Linked DNA regions of Homo sapiens: region 1 is linked to region 2. The links are contacts of gene promoters, found by promoter capture Hi-C in blood cells and fetal thymus (Javierre and others, 2016). All regions are on one chromosome and are shown on one strand. The core of a region is centred on a gene start or on the middle of the fragment in contact, and the rest is flanking DNA. Distances in the headings are between cores, read along the strand shown. Region 1 has its middle 13 kb from the start of LINC00365. Region 2 holds the start of ALOX5AP (arachidonate 5-lipoxygenase activating protein).

Evidence for each region. The method cuts DNA at HindIII sites, captures the fragments that hold promoters and counts their contacts. A CHiCAGO score of 5 or more calls a contact.
Region 1: a fragment that was not itself captured here is called in contact with the fragment with the promoter of ALOX5AP in region 2 in 1 of 17 cell types (fetal thymus); the score reaches 5.0 in fetal thymus.

The regions. Positions count from the first base shown.
Region 1 is chr13:30,119,896-30,124,402 of GRCh38, forward strand. No RefSeq gene overlaps it. Among named protein-coding and RNA genes, the nearest start is that of LINC00365, 13 kb to the left of the region's middle. The HindIII fragment of the contact is 3,577 bases long and covers 538-4,114 here.
Region 2 is chr13:30,733,581-30,737,466 of GRCh38, forward strand. It overlaps ALOX5AP (arachidonate 5-lipoxygenase activating protein), which reads left to right and starts at 1,963. Exons shown (of 5, transcript NM_001629.4): 1 at 1,963-2,095. The coding sequence starts at 2,026. The region is part of intron 2 of LOC124903146 (a long non-coding RNA gene); the gene reads right to left. The HindIII fragment of the contact is 8,013 bases long and covers 1-3,684 here.

The sequences.
Region 1 (4,507 bases), core at 1,076-3,575, 610 kb before region 2:
ATGATCCCCAGGGAGAAAGCAGAGCACACATGTAATCGTTAGGAAATAAGGTTCCAATCATGATTTTTAAAATATGGATAAAAGGGTAGAAACAAAGGGATCAAAGAAGGCTAGATTCACCAGTTTTTGGTTTTGTTTTTGAAGAAGCAGGCTTTGAAAGATGGCCAAATCTAGTGAAGGGAAGAGCAAAAAGCACTTTGGAAAAAGGAGAAAGTGTGACATTAGCAGAGAGGTGCAGGAGGGGCATGAATATCTGGGGTTGAAGCATAACACATGCTGGTGAGGATTGTGTGGACAACAGTAGGGAAGGGTTTGTATCCTCATCGATAAGAGGCCCAGACTCAGATGCCAGGCTTGAAGCTAAAGTTGCAGGTCCAACCATGAGGAAGAGGTTGTGCAGGTGCAAAGCACACAACATGTGCTTGTTGTCACATTCAATTTGAAAGCAGCTGCAGTGTCCCAGAGAGGATCTTGGAGGCCTAGAGGTGGGGAAATGCTTCTTAAACAAAACCTCAAAAGTGCAAAGCATAAGGGAAAAGCTTAATGAATTTGAACACATCCCACTCAAAGGGTTCTATTCAAAGAAGAACAAGGTTATGAGACAGATGAAAGATTGGGAGAAGACACTTGCAATGTCAAAAATAACTAGGAAACAGTATCTAAAATATGCAAGAACCTTGCAAATCAACAAAAATGATGGAAACCCCCTCTGCTCAAAAAACAAAGGCTCAGAAGAGGCAATTTGCAGGAGAGGAAACCCCCCTGAATAACAGGCATGTGAAGAGATGTTTAAACTCATTAGTAGAGAAATACAAATTAAATAGCAATGAGATATCACTTCTATTCACTCAACTGGCCAAAACCAGGAAACTGGATAATGTCAAGTGGTGGTGGGGATGTAGGAATGTTGGAATTCTTGGGCCTTGCTGGGGGTTTGTAGACTGGTACAGCCAATTTGGAGAGCAATACTTCATCAAATTAAATGTACCTGTCTTCTATTTCCCAACAATACCACCCCTGGACATGAATCATAGAAAAAATCCTTCCACACACCCTAAGGGACCATGCACAAAGAGACTTGCTGCAGTTCTTTCTGTGGCAGTAGGTGTCATCCATGGAGGTGGAGGAGCACAAGTGAAAAAGGTACACTCTGAAATACTCTATCAGAGTTGGGAGGAACAGACGACATGTACACGCGGCAACATGAACGGAGCTTTGAAAGGATAGTGTTGAGTCAAGAAATGAGAAGTGATGAGCTAGAGGATGTTTGTGTGCCTTCAACGATATGTGCCTTTAAACACTTTGTTTTTGAGAGAACACATGCTGATAACTACAAACAGGGAACACATTAGAATAGTTGCCTGTGAGGGACAGGAGAAAAGAAATGGGGAATGGAGGCCAATAAAATAAATGCCTGCCTGCACACATGAATGAATGAGATGGGGCTCTGAGGAGCCAATGATCCAGTGCATCATGAACTGAAGAATGTGGTGAACCCAACCATGTGCTTCTAAGAACAAACTAAGCAGAACTCAAGTGCTATATCCATTGCCAAGGCAATTCTAGAACTGAGTGTTAAGTAGATGACTTATGAGCAGAAGTAAAGAAAGTGGTACCATGAAGAGTCTATTATGGGTTATAAACCTAAATATGACACAACATTTTGAATAAATTGTATACAGCTACCAAACTAGCAGGTCAAGGAATTTCGTTAGACATAGGATTGCATTTTTTAGCAAAGCGTTGGCATGATCCCTGTGAAAAGGATGACTACATGTGGGCAGAGTAAGTAGTACCAGATACACAGTAAAGGAACTAAGTCCAGTAAAGCTACCTAGCTTCTCTGTGCTTGAATATCTTTATCCATGAATTTGAGCTTCCAGCTCTAGATAAACTGCTTTCATGATTCCTCTTCTCTTGGGTGTCCCCTAGCCTCAGGGGCATGTAGTGGAACATTCTGTGGTCCAGCCCACAGGAAGCAAGGGCACCAGGGCTGGCTTCCTCACTAACTAGCTGTGGGACCTTGGGGAGTTCACTTAAGTTCTTTGGGCCTGAGTTTTCTCATCTCTAAAATTTAGGTGATTTAGACTGAAAGGTCTCTCAGCTTTATGATTTATGAAATATGAATAAAATAGTCTTAAACTTTTTATTAAGTCATGAACTATAAGCTCAGTTCAAAGAGCTTTTCTTGCTCCTGGACCATTTGAGAATAAGCAGCATAGCCGATCTGCTGCACCAGCCCCCTGAATATTTTCATGCATATTTCCTACAAACAAAGACTTGCATCTACATAGCCACGTGCCACCACCAACATAGGAAATTAATGTTGATGCATTAGAACCCTGGACCCCATTCAAGCCTCATCATTTGGCCCACTCTAGATAAAGGACCCGGTTCTGAATCACTTAGCAGGCTCTGTCTCCTTGGTCTCTTTCAGACTGGAAGTGTTCCTCAGTCTTCTCTTGTCTCTCAAGACCTCCACACTTTGAAGATGACAAGCTAGTTATTTAGTATAATGTCACTCATATTGGGTTTGTGTGACGTTCCCTTGTGATTGCATACAGGTTAGACATCTTCAGAAGAAATCTCACAAATGCAATGCTGTGTTCTCATTGCATCCTATCAGGCGGCAGGAAATTTTGATTTGTCCTATTACTAATAATGTTCACTTTAATCACCTCATTAGATTGGTGTCAGTCATGTTCTCTGGAAGATCACTCATTTCCTCTTTGTTATAATCATTATTTTATGAGGAAGTATTTTTAAACTATAGCTACCAAGTTATAGTTTAAAAATGGCTTAACTACCAAATTATAGTGTCTAATATAATTGTGAGAAAATAAATATCTGTTGTTTAAGCCACTAAATCAGCAGTATGTTGTGAGAGCAGCCCAAGAAGATGAATACATTATTTATTGAAAACTGTGAGATCCCACAAATACCTCCAATTCTAATCCAACTGGAAACTCTAGTTTTCCTCCTTTCCCTGACAGTGAGAAGCTGGATTCCTATTAACCTTAATATATCCCTTCATTTGACCAATCCCCTTGTAGGTGGCCAACCCCCATCCCCACAACCACGCACCCTGCACTCACACTGCCTGTGGGGACACCCACATCAGGCCCGCTTCCCTGGGGAGGTTCGTCCTCCTCTCCCTACTCTGATTCCCACCCTGCCAAGGACAGCCGTCACAGTGCTTGGGCTCCAATAGCCCACCCCACACCAGGCCGGCCTCTGCCTACAAGCCCTCCTTCATTGACTTGTGTGCTCCTAAGCTCACAAAGGAACCTACAACTATAAATACCTTGAAAACTCATAAATATTTTAACTTTACTTCCTAATACTTCCTACTTTAAAAATACCAGCTCCTTCCACCTCCATGGCATCAGATGTTCAGAAATTCTCCTCCTCTGAAAGGACACATGAGGATGGGCAGGAAACCTGAACGAAGGCAGGCAGTCGGTCGTCTCTCCCCTATTCCCTCAAAACTGCAGCTCTGGGGCCCAGCAGCCTCCTGGAGGTCTCCATGTAGACGGTTCATGAGCGCCTTCACTGACATGACCAAGCTGACCTTGGCCATCCTTGTCTCTGTGAGTGGCACCACCATCCACTCGATGACTCATTCCAAAAATCTGAAGTTATTCTTGATTCTCCTCTCTCCCGATAGCCCTTTCCACACGGTATATATTGACTTGACTTCTCAAACATCCTCCGAGCTTTCTCCTCTGTCCATCGCCAGGCTCCTCATGGGGCCTAAGCCACCGTCATCCTCCATCGAACAGCCATGTTCTCCCTGGCTCCTGGGTCCCGCCTGCCTCCCTGGGTGGCCATGTCATGGTTCGCAGCCATGCACCCCTTCATTCTTGCTGAAAGGACTGTCCCTCTCAGCCTCATCCACTTTGGCCTGGGCCTTGGGACTTGCTTTGGTTGCGGGTGGCAGGGCTCGTGGGCCCTGGTTCCACCTGTGTCAGGGGCTCCCCCTTCAGCCTGGTCCTGGGGAGAGAAGGCAGCTGGAGCACAGCAGGGCCCTTGGCTCTCCAGAAATGTGAGCAAGAACTCACATGTGAACCATGGTAGGCTTTGGTAAACCTGGGGACGTATCTTCCCATGGCAAAGCTTATTAATAAGTCCCCTAAAATCTATTCCCCACAGTAGCCACTAGTTATGTTCAAAAAGTAAATTCTGCCATGTCTTTCCCTTGCTTTGCACCCACCGTGGCTGCTGCAGTTCTCTGAGTAAGAGGCCAGCCCTGATGGGAGCTCAGGACACCTTAGCCCTCCTGCCACATCCACCTCCAGCCCGACCCTCTCCTCCCGCCCCTTACTCTCCCCTGGCACTCCCAGGTCTCATTCTGGTCTGCCGTCCCGGCGCTGGCTCTTCCCTTTGCCTGGGTTGAGCTGCTGCCACCTCAACAGGATGGCTCACCTCATGATTTAGACCTTAGACGGAACAGCCCTGCTCCAGAGAGGTGACCTGACCACCCGTCCCCACTGGGGCACCACCCAGG
Region 2 (3,886 bases), core at 713-3,212:
ATTGATTGAGCTAAAAAATGCCCAGGTAGCTGGTAAAATGTTTTTTTCTGGGTGTGTTAGGGAGGGTGTTTCTGAAAGAGATCAGCACTGGAATCAGCGGACTAAGTAAAGAATTCCCACCCTCACCAATATGGTGGGTGTCATCAATCCACTGAGGGCCTGAATAGAACAAAAAGCGGGCAGAAGGGCAAATTCCCTCTTCTTCTTGAGCTGGGCCATCCATCTTCTCCTGCCCTTGGACACTGGAGCCCCTTGTTCTCCAGCTTTTGGATTCAGACTGGGTCTTGCACCATTGCCCTCCATCTTCTCCTGCCCTTGGACACTGGAGCCCCTTGTTCTCCAGCTTTTGGATTCAGACTGGGTCTTGCACCATTGCCCTCCTTGATGCTCAGGCCTTTGAATGCAGACTGGTCTCCACCAGCAGCTTTTCTGAGTCTCCAGCTTGCAGATGGCAAACCATGAAACTTCATGGTGTCCATGAGCATGTGAACCAATTTCTATTATAAATCTGCAATATATATATATGAGGAGACTTATTTATATATTGGTTCAGTTTCTCTGGAGAGCCTTGGCTAATATAAAGTCTATACTCTACAAAGTGCCCTAGGTACTCAGGGAGTACCCAAGTGTGTCATGACCAGCCCGACAGCCCTGGCTGCTGGCTTCCCCGCACACAACTCTGCACGCTGCCTTCATCAGCCTTTCTCTCTCAGCTGAACCGAGGGCATTGAAGCGGGCCTCTGGCACTGTACCTATGAGGGAGCAATATCTTCCCCTACACTGACCTCTTCCGTGCCGAGATGCAGCCCTCCCTGCTGCCACTAGTTACAGTGGTCCATGTTCCCTTTCAAAGTGAAGTTTTGATAAAAGCACCTCTTAACCAATGCCAAATAGCTAAGTCTGGGACAAAGATTGCAGGTATTTTGCATTTTCCATGTAACCTCAGAGGGATTGCCATTCACACTGATCTGAGCTGCAGAATACCAGGCAGCCACCTCACCCACCCAGCAGGTCCACTCTTATACTTTCTCAGAAAGCACAGCCACTCTACTCTTATTCAGTTGAAAAGAATTTCCAGGAAGGTGTTTCTGCGATTGCCTCAGAAAAGTCAGTTCCCTTTGGGAATTTCCCTTAGGGATCATCTGTAACTCCATTTCTGCCTTTTACCTGAATTCTTTGGTTTGGTTTGAATTCTTTGGTTTAATTTATGAATTCCCTTTATTACTTTTCTCTGAAGAAATGGAGATATCAGCTGTCCCTCCCCACTGCCATTTATTCCTTCCTTCATTCAAACCTTATGTGGCTGCTACTTACCGTGTGTTAAGTGTTCACTTTTTTTCTTGGAATTCAAAAAAAGAAGGACAGTATTTGGGGCACAGATCTTTTGGTGTTCTATACATTTTTTTAAAGTTTCATTTTACATTTGTGTGTGCGTGTGTGTGTGTGTGTGAGACAGTCTTGCTCTGTTGCCCAGGCTGGAGTGCAGTGGCATAATCATTGGCTCACTGTAGCCTCAAAGTCCTGGGCCCAAGCAATCTTCCCACCTCAGCCACCCAAAATGCTGGGGTTACAGGTTTATGCCACTCTGTCTGACCTGAAAGTTTTGGGTTTACTTTCCCTTCTTTCTCTTTGCTGAAGTCAGAGATGATGGCAGCTTCCAGATTCTCTGGTGCCTGTGCTGGGCTCGTGCTGGTCATGGTCTTGGGTCCAGGATTCATTCTGGAGACTCTCAGGGAAGTTTCCCATGACAAGGAAATGTAGGAGAGTGTGCTGGCTTTGCGTGCTCCTCTGCCAAGCCCTGCTTCTCCTGGTGGGACACACTGAACCACAGCCAGGGCATTTTGGTGGTTAGTTAAAAAAAAAAAAAAAAAAAAAAAAAGGAAGAAGAAGGCACTGTGTAATTGTGCCGGGGATCTTCAGAAATTGTAATGATGAAAGAGTGCAAGCTCTCACTTCCCCTTCCTGTACAGGGCAGGTTGTGCAGCTGGAGGCAGAGCAGTCCTCTCTGGGGAGCCTGAAGCAAACATGGATCAAGAAACTGTAGGCAATGTTGTCCTGTTGGCCATCGTCACCCTCATCAGCGTGGTCCAGAATGGTAAGGAAAGCCCTTCACTCAGGGAAGAACAGAAGGGGAGATTTTCTTTGATGGTTGTTTGGAAGTCAGGCTTAAACAATTGTGTCTGTGTGTGCGCATGCACAAACACTTTTACCTTATCTTTATTTTCTTCTTTTTATTTGAATGTATAGGGTTGTGTGTATTTCTGTGTAAATTTGGGGTTTTCCTCCTCTTAGTCTTTCACTTTTGTGGTGATTACCAGTCCCATTTTTAGAGCCAGGGCTGCAACTTGAAGGTTTTGCTAAAACCCTCACCGAAGTGTCTATGATCAGCATTTTAACTATTAATTAATGTGGCCAGGCAAGGGGTGGAAGGTGAGAAGACTAGAAAGGGAACATGATATACACATTTACTCAGATACTGGGCTTTTCTAACATCTGCAGTGCAATTGAAGTTACCAGTCATCTGCAGTCTAAAAAGAAAGTGATTTTGGGAGGTGCGTAGAAAAAATCATCTTATTATTTTTCCTCTATATTACTTTTTTCTTTTTTTCTCCTGAAGAAACTTTTTTTTTTGGTGATACCTTCTTTTTCTCTAGCACGTATAATTTTGGAAGCATTTTTCATATGCAGTGTATACTTCAGAAAGAGAGAGAGAGAGAGGAAAATTGTCCTGTTCAGCGTTTGCATTTCCATTATTCCTGCTATTAGTTAAAAACAACAACAACAACAAAAAACAAGCAGGATACCTAGATCTGGAAAAGGGAGAATTGTGTAGAGCTGTCTTCCTAAAGTTCTGAGTTAGGGCTGCCTCAGACCACTTTCATAACTATCTCCAGTGGCTTTGTGTTTTATATTTATTAAGATAGAGAAAAAAAGAGTAATTACTAAGGGCAGCTGCTGTAGCTTTATGGTGATTACTGAACATTGACATGCTGTCACGTTTTTGGAACTTTGAGTATTTAATCACTTTGGGATATTCTATTTTCCCCCATCTTGAGTGTGGACAGATGCTGGTGATGTAGCCTTCTGGGCACAGAGCAAGCCTCCCCCTCAGCCTCTGCACCAGAAAGGCTCAGCTTCACACACTCCAAGTATGTTTTCTACAAGAACTACACTTTGTGGCTTTCTGACCCAAACATTTTTATACTAAATTACACACAACAAAGTTGTAGCTCAGAGAGGGAACAAATGGCTTATTTAGGCCACCATTTTCTTGAGCCATTATGATTTCACACAGGGCTCCCTTGGCCCTGTAAATTGGCAAGGATTCCATTATTCAACCCGCATACATGTACAGAGACCCTGCTCTGGCCCAGATAGTATTCTGGGTACAGGCGGATAGAGCAGGAAACAAAACAGCTACAGTGATGGACAGGTCAGCCTGCAGCAATGCCTGCAGTCTCTGCAAAGGTAGCTGTATGGGTGGGCAGGTGGCTAGCACTTATTCAGCTCTGGAAGGATCTCCCCTCTGGCCTCTCCCCTGACACCCATCAATAAAACTGAGGAGCATCGGTGGACAGGGGACCTTGTGCCCCCTCCCTGCCTGTGCAGTTGGGGCTGAACCCAGCTACGAAGTTTGAGCTCACTCTCTCCAGCTCCCTCTCAATTCAGAGCTGAACTGTGGGAAGCTTCAGAGCTCTCTGTTTCAAGGACAGGTTCTCCTCACCTCTCCTAATGGAGGTGCACCAGGGAACTGGCCCTGCTCTGCCCAGGGCTTTCTCCTGGACTTTGCCATCATGGTCTAGCAAACCCTGTTCAGATTGAGGTGAGTGGTGAGATTTCGAATTCTTTTTGACAGATAGGATTAAGTCTTCTTCTGTGGGACAAG